Linked DNA regions of Homo sapiens: regions 2 and 3 are each linked to region 1. Evidence: promoter capture Hi-C in human tissues and cell types (Jung and others, 2019). All regions are on one chromosome and are shown on one strand. Each heading gives the region's core, a stretch centred on a gene start or on the middle of the fragment in contact. The rest is flanking DNA. Distances are from core to core; before and after follow the strand shown.

The links. Contacts are between HindIII fragments. The study calls those that stand out against the background at their distance.
Region 2: a contact is called between a fragment that was not itself captured here and the fragment with the promoter of ZNF879 in region 1, in 2 of the 25 tissues and cell types used here (dorsolateral prefrontal cortex and spleen).
Region 3: a fragment that was not itself captured here is called in contact with the fragment with the promoter of ZNF879 in region 1 in 3 of the 25 tissues and cell types used here (dorsolateral prefrontal cortex, psoas muscle and spleen).

Annotation. Positions count from the first base shown.
Region 1 is chr5:179,021,675-179,025,667 of GRCh38, reverse strand. It overlaps ZNF879 (zinc finger protein 879), which reads right to left and starts at 1,864. Exons shown (of 5, transcript NM_001136116.3): 1 at 1,764-1,864; 2 at 631-698. The coding sequence starts at 663. RefSeq lists an enhancer at 1,735-2,236. The HindIII fragment of the contact is 17,237 bases long and covers 1-3,993 here.
Region 2 is chr5:178,960,249-178,964,241 of GRCh38, reverse strand. All of the region lies in intron 4 of ZNF454 (zinc finger protein 454), which reads right to left. Among named protein-coding and RNA genes, the nearest start is that of ZNF454, 21 kb to the right of the region's middle. The HindIII fragment of the contact is 4,453 bases long and covers 82-3,993 here.
Region 3 is chr5:178,980,818-178,984,810 of GRCh38, reverse strand. It overlaps GRM6 (glutamate metabotropic receptor 6), which reads left to right. Exons shown (of 11, transcript NM_000843.4): 10 at 1,590-1,901; 11 at 2,957-3,993. The coding sequence ends at 3,154. It also overlaps a transcript of ZNF454 not described here. Among named protein-coding and RNA genes, the nearest start is that of GRM6, 13 kb to the left of the region's middle. RefSeq lists an enhancer at 1,917-2,086. The HindIII fragment of the contact is 5,310 bases long and covers 1-3,993 here.

The DNA of each region.
Region 1 (3,993 bases), core at 615-3,114:
TGGGAATACAGGGCCTCTCTTTTTCAAATTCCCCGTGTTAGGAAGGAATTATTTAACTCCTCCGTGTCTTTGTCCTCCACAGGGCAAAAACACCTGGATCTTTCACAAAGCTCTGGTAGTGGCAGTGGCCTGGCATTGGAGCCCCATTAAATTCTTTGTCAAAAAGCATGAGACTGGGGGCCGGGCGCGGTGGCTCACGCCCATAGTCCCAACACTTTAGGAGGCTGAGGCGGGCAGATTGCTTGAGGTCAGGAGTTCAAGACCAGCCTTGCCAACTTGTTGAAGCCTGGTCTCTACTAAAAATACAAAAATTAGCTGGGTGTGGTGGCACACATGCCTGTAGTCCCAGCTACCAGGGAGGTTGAGGCTGCAGTGAGCCATGTCCGTGCCACTGCACTCCAGCCTGGGTAACAGAGTGAGACCCTGTCTCAAAAAAGGGAAAGAAAAAAAAAAAAAAGCATGAGACAGGCTCTGAGGCAAGGGAAACACCTTCCTTCCAGAGTTTCTCAGCTACCAAGCCCTCTGGTCCTTCCCTGAGCTTCACTGGGTAGAGAAGCTCAACAACAGATGAAGAAGTTTACCACGTCTAGACCCTGAAGGCAGTTCAAGCAAAAAGAAGCCTTCACTCACCTGTACATGGGCTGGCAGCAACCTCCTTGCCATTTCTCCCTCCCTGCTGCCTCTCTTGGAGAAGGCACCTGGAATGGAGAAAAAAGCTGTGAGGTCTTTTCATCCAGCCTGCATGCCCACCCTCATTAGGCCAGACCAGGTTAGAAGCCATAAGCTGAGCACCTGCAGAGAAGGAGCCTGGAACTGCCCAGGCCAGAGGGGCCCTAAGTCCGGCCACTTAAACCAGTGTGGGAAGCAGGTTCAGAGTCACCGGGCCTGCTACCTTTCTGCCAGTGCTTTACGATAAAGACGAAAGGAGCGAAGGGATGAAGACCATCTGCCGTGCCTTAACAGGGTCAAGGGCAGAATCAGGCAAGGCTCATTCAGATAAAGTAATAGGAAATGACACAATATTCCACACATCTGCACTTGGATGTTGTTCAATACGAAAAACAGCAGTTGAAGAACTGATGCTCTTTTTTAGGAACAGCCAACCAAAAATTAGTCCTCTTTTCTTCCTCTTGTAAGATTTACTTCCTTTATCAAAAACAGTTATCAAAGCTGCTTAAAGGTAGCGTTACCCATTCTCCCTGGCCCCAAAAAAACAAGGGCGCAAGAAAACAGCATCACTAGCTAGAAATTGATTTAAAATTTAGAGAAATGGGAAGAAACGTAGCAAGTGGACATGGTTACGGTAAATAAAAAAAGAAATAGTTAAATCACTCTAGGACTGGCTGTAGGAAAACACTGCCAAACGTGCAAGACTGCCAAAAACGAGTAAATCTAAAGTTTAAACTCCGGGAAACGGAGTAGGGGGAGGCTTAAACCCACAAACACTAAGAGCGAAAAACCGCCCGGAGGGCTCCGGACCCTGAACCGAGGCGGCATTTTGCAGTTTCTGTTCTGGAGCCGTTTCCCCCGGAGTCCGGCCCAGGCTGCGGCCCAGGAGTCCAGCGGCGTCGAAGCGCCCTCCCGGCCTCCGCCAGGCCCTTCCCAGGCCACGCCCCCTCCGGGGCCGGGTTCACCTGCCGAGGCCGCCCCGGCTCGGACGCCCGGAGCCGGGGACTCGGCAGACACGCGCAGAGGCCAGCCCTCGTCCTGGTCCCGCCGCGGCAGCCGCACGCCCCGGGCCCGCCCTCACCGGCAGCCTGTACCTGGGCCCGCCTCGGCGGGGGGCGCGCAGCTCCACACCGCACAAGAGGCGAGCGGAACACCTAATTCAGAGACGTTTCCCGTCGCTGCCGGGCGCAACTGCGCCTGCGCGCCGGAGAGCCGACGGGTTTCCCTGGCTGAACCGCAGCGTTTGTCCCTCCGGACTTCATTTCCCAGACGTCGCTGCGGCACCACCACTTACGGTGTCCGAGAGAGAACCACAGCGCCGAGAGCGGAGAACGCGGTCGGGCTGTGGAGTTCGAGAAGGCTGAAGCCGAGTCCCTCAGCTTGGGCTCCAACTACTCTCCCTCCGCTAAACCACCCATTGTATTCGTAATTAGAATGACAAAAATAGTAAGACGGAAAAGTGAGTATGAATTTTTAAATCTGGAAGACTAGCCGCTGCTGATTATTCGCAGGTGGTGACAGAACTATTACAGTCCATTCTGCGATTTTAATTAAAAATGAATTATGTCTAAATTTTATAATCTCGGCCGGGCGCGGTGGCTTATGCCTGTAATCGCAGCACTTTGGGAGGCCGAGGTGGGCGGATCACAAGGTCAGGAGACCGAGACCATCTTGGCCAACATGGTGCAACCCTGTCTCTACGAAAACACGAAAAATTAGTCGGGCGTGGTGGCACATGCCTGTAATCCCAGCTATTCGGGAGGCTGAGGCAGGAGAATCGCTTGAACCTGGGAGGCGAAGGTTGCGGTGAGCTCAGATCGCGCCATTGCACTCCAGCCTGGGTGACAGAGCAAGACTCTGTCTCAAATAAATAAATAAATAAATAAATAAATTTTTGTAATCTTTACATATTTACTGGCACTCAGAGTAAAACAAAAGCATAAGCCTAGTATTTCCCTCTTCATGGCACTCACTTCTTTTGAAGTGACTTCTTTAAAACGTAAAATAAAGCCCAACTCCCAGCGCTATCATCACAACTGCATCCTCGGTGACCGGCACTGTACACGCCAAATACTATGTGCTCAGAAAGTGTTGATTTTTAAAATATCAAACATTAGCGTTTACAGAGACAAACCTAAACACAAAGGGTACTTGAAGATAGAAAATGCAGAGAGGGACTAAGAGATATCAGGTAGATAATATGAAAAAGAAATCTTGGATCACGATGTTACAACAATACAAAGATTATTGCAATGTAAAAATAATTAAATCGAACAAAATGGATGTTTTATATTGTTAAAAGATAATAATGCACATCACTAATCATTAGGGGAATGCAGATCAAAGCAGATCAAACATCCACTGCGATTTCACACTCATTAGGTTGGCTATTATAAAATTTGGAAAAAAAAGAAAACCAGAAAACAATCCTTGTGCCTTAATGGTGGGAATGTAAAATGGTAGCGCTGCGCTGGAAAACGGTATGGCAGTTCCTCAAAAAAAAATTAAATGTAGAATTAACACATGGGCAATTCCATTTCTGGACCATATGTTATTTCTATATTTAATTATTATTTTAAAATAATAATAATAAAGATATGACAGTTATAGACCATTATTGACAAAACAACATAGCATTGAGATTTACAAAGTAAAAGGTGCCAGACTGAGTACCCATGATTACCTCCCTTTTTCTCTTCATATTCTTCAAAGTAACCCCAAACACATATAATTTTCAAAGGAGCAAATCTAATGCAACTCTAGAAAAATACCATCAGAACACCAGAAATTGAGGAAACATTTGGAAGACATGCAGGAGACAAGTGCTCTGATACCCAAAATCTAATAAAAAGATTCAGAAGAAAGCAGAGAAAATGGGGAGGGGGAATAATAACAGATTGATTACATACAGAAATAGTGATAGAGATATAGCAGAAAACACATTCAAGCTGAGGAAGCCCTGAGTCTTCAGAGTAAATAAAATGTAGGGAGTTTGGCATAATGAATGAGCTAGGGTAGGGATGGCCCATAAAAAATACATCCTCGATGAAATATCACAACTCTGAGGATAAATAGGAACCCCTAAAAGTGGCCAGAAAAGACGGAATAAAAGGTTGGCATGTGTTATTTGCTACAAGTCACAGAAGATGGAACTGCTCAAGTTGGCTGAAATGAATAAGGAATAGCAAGAAATCACTGGGGCAGACTCCGGCTAGAGAAGAATCGGTGGTTCTATGATGTCAGCAAAAACCAGGTTTTGGCCGGGGGTGGTGGCTCAAGCCTGTAATCCCAGCTATTTGGGAGGCTGAGGCAGGGCAGTTGCTT
Region 2 (3,993 bases), core at 1,059-3,558, 62 kb after region 1:
GGCTGAGGCAGGAGAATGGTGTGAACCCGGGAGGCGGAGCTTGCAGTGAGCCGAGATCGCGCCACTGCATTCCAGCCTGGGTGACAGAGTGAGACTCCGTCTCAAAAAAAAAAAAAGTCACAGGCCTGGGTTAGAATTGAGTACAACACATATTTTCTTTGTGATAATAGAGAAGTTATCTGATTTTCTAAGCCTCAAAAAAAAGAAAAACCTGATAAAGACCACATGATGCTAACAGACAAGAAGAAAAGTACCCTGTCGATTCAAATGAGATGATTTTTAAAGCCAGCCAGATGTGGCCTAAAGAAACTGCTGAAAATAGTAGTCGACACTTGGTAGGAAAAACCTTGACTCTAGAGTGAATACTAAAATCAAGATATAGGCTCATTTGAGCATTCAGATGAATAATAAAAAGCTAGGCCGCTGTACAGGCTGTGTGAAATGCTCATATCTACTAAAAAAATAAGGACCTCCTATTGCTTGTGAGGAAGCAATGTCTCCAAACCCATATGAATAATGTGACACCCATGGGAGGGAAATGTGCCATGAGATATTTTGTGGCAAAGTTATCTCAGGATAAACGCTGCAGCTGCAAGCACTGCCGGCAAGTATTCTCAGGGCAAACAGGAGAGGGCCTAAAATGTAAAACTAAGGGCTAGATTCCAAACACAGACGATGCAGAATTCACGAGAAATCCCATCAAGAACAAGCCATCCTTATTACCTCCTTTTCCCACTCGCTGCAGAAAATCTTCTACAAAAAGGCACTCCTGGTATCATTTTAGAATCAAAGAAACAAACCTCTTTACTTACTAGGAAAAGAAAGGTAAACAGGCGCATTTCAAGACTAAAATCCTGTTGAGCTCAGAATAATATATCCTTGTTCAAAACAAAGAATGGTCAAAGTTAAACATCGGTATTGCCAAATGTCAAAATGTTAAGGACTGACTTCCACTTCTGGCCCAAATAGAGTAGACTGTGGCAGACTAACATTTCTGCAGAAAACAACTAGAAAATCTGAATTGGAAAAAGTTATCTGTCTGAAGGCATCAGATGTCACCCAGGCAGACTTTATAGTCTAATATTTGGGAGAGAATGAAAATATAGAGAGGTGATCCCAATACTCAGTGGCTTGTTACTCAAACATTTTATTGAATTCTTAAGCTTTACAGGGCAAAAGATTAAAGTTAAGCAGAAATCCAGAATTTTCTAGTCTTTTAGTACAACAGAACCAGGACCTTCCAAGGAGAGGTCATAATAACATGTGAAGCTCTCAGCCGGGACTCCTGCAGGGCTACAAAACTAGTAGTACGGGCAAATGAGCAGTTGACATAGCTTTACAAATATTGTGACCAACCTCCAGCTATTACAGGCCTTGGCTGGACTAAGATGGTTTGCTTGCACTCTAGCTGCTACCAGGGAAGTTAAATCTTCTCTGGAAGAACAACATCTAGAGCCTCTGCTCTCCTTCACATATAGTGTCAGGGATACAATAAAAAAGGCCAGCTGTGCTAAGAAATTCAATGAAGAGGGAAAAACAGACAATAGAAAAAGAACCGTAGAACACAGATACCAGAGTTATCAGACGTGAACCTTAAAATAACTGTGATTAATATGTTCAAGGAAACAGGAATGAGAATTACAACAAAGAATTGGAACCAAATAATCAAATGGAAATTCTAGAACTGAGAAATACAATAACCAAAATTATGAATTCAATAGTCTTTAACAAGATATCAAATATAGCAGAAAAGAGGAATAGTGAGCTACAAAAATACATAAGCAGAAAATATCCATAGTAAAACATGGCTAAAAAACTAAACATTATTTAAAAACAAAAAGGTTGAAAAATGAACTCTGAGAAGGGCTATAAACTCCAAGGATAACTACAAAGAAAATTCACCTAGGCACCTCAGCTAGGCACTACTGAAAACTGAAGATTACCTTGAAAGTTGCTTGAAAAAAACAAATGATACACTACCTTTGAAAAAGCAAAACTAAGACTGGCAGTGTCTTAATGAAAACAATGGAACCCAGAAGACAATGAAGTAACATCTGAAGCGGTGAAAGAACCGAACTGTCAAGCTAGAATTCAACACACAGAGAAAATATCTCTAAAAATTAAACTTGAAGTAGATATTTCCATACAAATAAAAACAGAGATGGTGTCACCAGCAGATCTACATTAAAAGAAACACAGATGTGTTCCAGGCAGAAGAAAAATAATTCCATGTGGAAATATGAAAATGTAAGAAGGCATGAAAAGCAATGGAAAAGTTAAATATATGGATAAGCAAAAATACAATTGATTATATGAGACAATAATTATAATGTCTTAATGGATTGCAAATATATGTGGAATTAAAATACATAGCAAAAATAAAGGTAGAAGGAAGAAAATGCTGTTAATTTTTTTTTTTTTTTTGAGACAGAGTCTCGCTCTGTTGCCCAGGCTGGAGTGCAGTGGTGATCTCAGCTCACTGCAACCTCTGCCTCCTGGATTCAAGCGATTCTCCTGCCTCAGCCTCCCGAGTAGCTGGGACTACAGGTGCACGCTGCCATGCCCAGCTAATTTTTTTTTTGTGTTTTACTAGAGACAGGGTTTCACCGTGTTGCCCAGGCTGGTTGCGAACTCCTGAGCTGAGGCAATCCGCCCGCCTTGGCCTCCCAAAATGCTGGGATTACAGGCGTGAGCCACCACACCTGGCCAAAAATGCTGTTAATTTTTAAGATTGTAACAATAATTTTAATTTTATTAAAAGTAAAAATTTATTTTGGACAGTAATAAGCTGGTTTTATTTATTAACAATAAAAGACTAAGTAAAGAAGGTTAATTAACAAGCTAATACAGAGTGAAAATGGCACAATAAAAGTATTTAATCCAATAGAAGGAAGGAAAAAAGGACAAGGAATTTAAAGCAAGTAAGTGAAATATAAAATAAATAATAGGATAGTAGATATAAAATCCCATACATAGTAACTTACCTAAGTTATTTTTAAAAACTAAGATTGTGGGCCAGGTGTGGTGGCTCTTGCCTGTAATCCTAGCACTTTGGGAGGCTGAGGCGGACAGATCACGAGGTCAAGAGATTGAGACCATCCTGGCCAACGTGGTGAAACCCCGTCTCTACTAAAAATACAAAAATTAGCCGGGTGCAGTGGCACGCACCTGTAATCCCAGCTACTTGGGAGGCTGAGTCAGAAGAATCGCTTGAACCCAGGAGGCAGAGGTTGCAGTGAGCTGAGATCGTGCCACTGCACTCCAGCCTGGCGACAGAGTGAGACTGTGTCTCAAAAAAAAAAAAAAAGATTGTGAGACTGGATGAACAAATAAAACATAACTGAGTATCATTTAGAAAAGAAATACCAAAAATATAGACACTGAAATAATAAAATAATTAAAAAGGATATATCATACAAAAGAAAGGTGCTATACCCATACTAATATCAGACAAATCACACAGTATTGGAGAAAACAGACTTTAAGGTATTTTATATAGACAAAAGGGTCAATTCTCCAGGAACATACAACAAATTTTCATTTGTATGCACACAACATAACTTTAAAAATGTATAAAGTAAAAATAGAATAAAAAGGAAAAATAGATAAATCAATAATCATAGTGAAAAATGTTCATATGGCACCCTCAATGACTCAGAAATCAAACCATTAAGAAAAGGAATGGGCTGGCCAGGTGTGGTGGCTCATGCCTGTAATCCCAGAACTTTGGGAGGCCAAGGCGGGTGGATCACCTGAGGTCCGGAGTTTGCGACCAGCCTGACCAAGGAGAAACCCCGTCTCTACTAAAAATACAAAATTAGCCGGGCGTGGTGGCACATGCCTGTAATCCCAACTACTCCGGAGGCTGAGGCAGGAGAATCGCTTGAACCGGGGAGGTGGAAGTTGCAGTGAGCCAAGATCTTTCCATTGCACTCCAGCCTGGGCAACAAGAGCGAAACTACGTTTCAAAAAAAAAAAAAGAAAAGGAATGGG
Region 3 (3,993 bases), core at 714-3,213, 41 kb after region 1:
TCCCGGCGAGCCCCTTCTCTATTCGTTCCACACACGCCACGTGCCTCGGGTCATGCAGTTCTCCGTGACTAGGAGGTGCTCCCGTCTTCCTCCACGTAACAGGGCCTGAGTGTCCCCTGGTCAGGCCCAGGGTCTCCGTGTGCCGCACATCCTGAGAAGGTGCCCTCTACGTCCCGGCCTGAGGTGCTCCTGCTCCCCCACCCTCAGGTGGAGATGCTTAGACCCCGTTGGGGACCCCCAGCTCTCCTCCCCAGCCTCAGCCACTGCCCGCCCCACACTGTACCCTCTTTTCCAGATACAAGGGATCTTTAAAAACACACAAGCCTGCAACTGGCCTAGGTGTTTTGCCATGACTACCACGTCATGACGGGCTGCAAAATGGCATCTCACTGTGGCTTCAATTCGCCTGCACTTAGCACCAGTGCGCCGGCCATGGGGCTTTCCTCTCCTGGGCTCAGCCTGTTCCTGTCCTTTGCTCATTTGCTGTTATTTTGCAGGAGTCCGTTCCGAGTGAGGCGTGCTCGCTCGCTCCCCACTCCACGGGCTGCGGCATCTGTGGGCCGTTTTGGTGGTTACCGCTGTGCAGCCCTGGGCTTGCATTTTTGTTTCTCATGAGCAACTTTTTTTTTTTCCACCTGGAGCCTTGTTCTAGTAGGAACTTCCAAACTTATTTTGGAAGTTGGTCTCGATCTCCTGACCTCGTGATCCACTTATTTGGAAGGTCCTTTGTTCAGGGGTCTGCTGCCTTTGGGAGAAGCACAAAAAGCTGCTGCTTCTGGGTGGGCAGATGACTGCAAAGCATCCCTTCCAGCAGGATCACATGGCCCTGCTCCAGGTGCTCGGCATGGCACTGGCATGCAGGCTGGATTCCAGCTCCACCCCTGCCCCCAATCAGGCGCTCTCGTACAGTGAACAACCAGCACGAACGTGTGGGGCAGCCCTTCCAGGGTCCCGCCTTTATGCAGGTGGCTTCGTTCCTGTTCCCCAGCTTTCCTTGGCTTGAGGTTGTGCTTCCTGTCATGTGAGGGAGTGGTAACTCCATCTCCTCCCTGTGAGGGCCTGCACAGACTCCAGTACTCCTCGGCATCAGCTCCCATTCCTGCTCCTCCCCACTGAGTGCTCCTTTGTTTCTCTTGCCTGTGGCGTGCCCTGATTTTGAAGCTCAGTACACGTGAGGAGGCTAGAGAGGCGATGCGAGTAGGGCCTCAGTTCCAGAGCTTCCGGCCACATCCATCTACCTTGAAGGGGCGCAGTAAATGGCATTGGTAATGGCTAGAATGCAGGAAGAGGACACCAAGCTGCCCCTTATGCACACTGCACTGATGTTGCCAACATATACGGGCGGCACAGCCCTTCTCCGCAGCTGCCAGGTCACGGGCCTTTGGACGGACCCCTCTTGGGCTGCCCCTGCCTGGGCTGCCATCCCCTCTTCTCCACTGAGTGCTCCTGAGAGCCACCACGAAGAGGTGGAGCATCCCCTCCATAGGCCAGAGCCTCAAGGGGATCCTGACCCGCAGGGGCCTCTGTCAGGGCTGGAATGGATTTGTCCCTGGAAAGTGCTGTGTCTGATGCAGTGTTGGCTCCTGCAGGTGGTGGGGATGATAGCATGGCTGGGGGCCCGGCCCCCACACAGCGTGATTGACTATGAGGAACAGCGGACGGTGGACCCCGAGCAGGCCAGAGGGGTGCTCAAGTGCGACATGTCGGATCTGTCTCTCATCGGCTGCCTGGGCTACAGCCTCCTGCTCATGGTCACGTGCACAGTGTACGCCATCAAGGCCCGTGGCGTGCCCGAGACCTTCAACGAGGCCAAGCCCATCGGCTTCACCATGTACACCACCTGCATCATCTGGCTGGCATTCGTGCCCATCTTCTTTGGCACTGCCCAGTCAGCTGAAAAGGTAATGAGGTCCCCAGGAGGTCTCGCTGCCTGTTTCCTGCCTGTCAGGCTGGTCGATTCATTCATGAGATTAAATGCTTGTTCGTGCTTTTGTTTATCCCGTATCTGGCTGCTTGTTCATTCACTCATTCCCTTCTTACTTTGTTCATTCATTCACTTTTCCAAGCTTCTAACCCCTCTTCTTAACTTCCACTCTTCTTTTTTTCTTTTTTTTTTTTATCATTTTCATTTCTTTGAGAGATATTGCCTCACTCTGTCACCCAGTTACAGTTAGCTTGTTTTTTTTAATTCAAGTTCTTCATATGCTTTTTTTTTTTTTTTTTTTTTTTTTTTTGAGACAGAGTCTCACTCTGTTGCCCAGGCTGGAGTGCAGTGGCGTGATCTTGGCTCACTGCAAGCTCCGCCTCCTGGGTCAAGTGATTCTCCAGCCTCAGCCTCCCCCGTAGCTGGGACTACAGGTGCCTGCCACCACGCCTGGGCAATTTTTGTAATTTTAGTAGAGATGGGGTTTCACCATATTAGTCAGACTGGTCTCAAATTCTTGACCTCAAGTGACCCATCTGCCTCGGCCTCCCAAAGTGCTGGGATGACAGGCGTGAGCCACTGCGCCCAGGCTTCATGTGCTTTATAACTGCCAACCCATTAATGCGTCAGCCCATTGCTGCATCATTTATTCACGTATGCGGCAGAATATTTTATGCACCTGTCATCCATTTATTTGCCCATCTGCTCCTGAAGTTTGTCTCTGCCCATTTATTCATTTGTATGTATTTGAAACGTGCTCATTCACTGACATGCCCCGGCTCCCGCTTCCCCAGGTGTCTCTCTGTTAATAACCCCTCCTCACCCCTCCCTCCTGCCCACACCAGAGCTGCATGGAGGCTGCCAGCCCCTCAGGCGCGGGGCCCCTGCTCATACTGTTGTCCTGGTCTAAGTGCTCATTCCCAGTTCCCCAACTGAAACAGACTCAGCTCCAGAGTATGTGGTGAGGACTGTGTGGAGCGGGGCAGGGAGAGCAGGGCTGAGTCCCATCTGGTCCCCTCTTCCATGGCCTAGATCTACATCCAGACAACCACGCTAACCGTGTCCTTGAGCCTGAGTGCCTCGGTGTCCCTCGGCATGCTCTACGTACCCAAAACCTACGTCATCCTCTTCCATCCAGAGCAGAATGTGCAGAAGCGAAAGCGGAGCCTCAAGGCCACCTCCACGGTGGCAGCCCCACCCAAGGGCGAGGATGCAGAGGCCCACAAGTAGCAGGGCAGGTGGGAACGGGACTGCTTGCTGCCTCTCCTTTCTTCCTCTTGCCTCGAGGTGGAAGCTGTATAGAGCCCGGGTCCACGGTGAACAGTCAGTGGCAGGGAGTTTGCCAAGACCATGCTCCGCGTCGGTGGGGCTGGCCTTGAGAAGGAACTGGACCCAGCTCTACCCCGATTCCAGCATGTGAGCTTCATGCTTCCTCACCACAGACCAGACTCGCTTCCCATGGTGGGAAACAGCCACCGAGAAGGTTCTAGCTCTAGAAAGGGACTAAACTTATTCTCTCATCCGAAGTCCAAAGAGGATGATGAAGCCCTGGGCTTTGCCTGGTTTGCGGGAGATTTCCTCCCCTCAGTCAACCCCCATAACCTGGGGATTGGGCAGTGTGGAAGAACGTGTAGACCCCAGAATGAAACATGGGGTTGGAGTGGAGGAGGAGCTGTCTCAGCAAGAGGAGACCTGGGGCTGTGCATCTGGATGGAGGCACTCAGGCCTGGGTAGGATTCCTCTGGCACGGAGGGAGAGACCCTGGGTGAGACCCCTGTGAGCATGGGAAGGGCCTGCAGTGGGCGCGGGAGTGAGCTGAGGAACTGGGGTGCGCCCCCATGAGATTCCCAATGCCATGGGCTTTCCCCCATCCCCCCGGGATTGGGCAAGGTCAGACTTAGAGTACAGCTGTTTTCCTCCCCTCTGTGTACTCCCTTAAATCACCCCAACCTTGGCCAGGCATGGTGGCTCACACCTGTAATCCCAGCACTTTGGGAGGCCGAGGCAGGTGGATCACCTGAGGTCCGGAGTTCGAGACCAGCCTGGCCAATGTGGTGAAACCCTGTCTC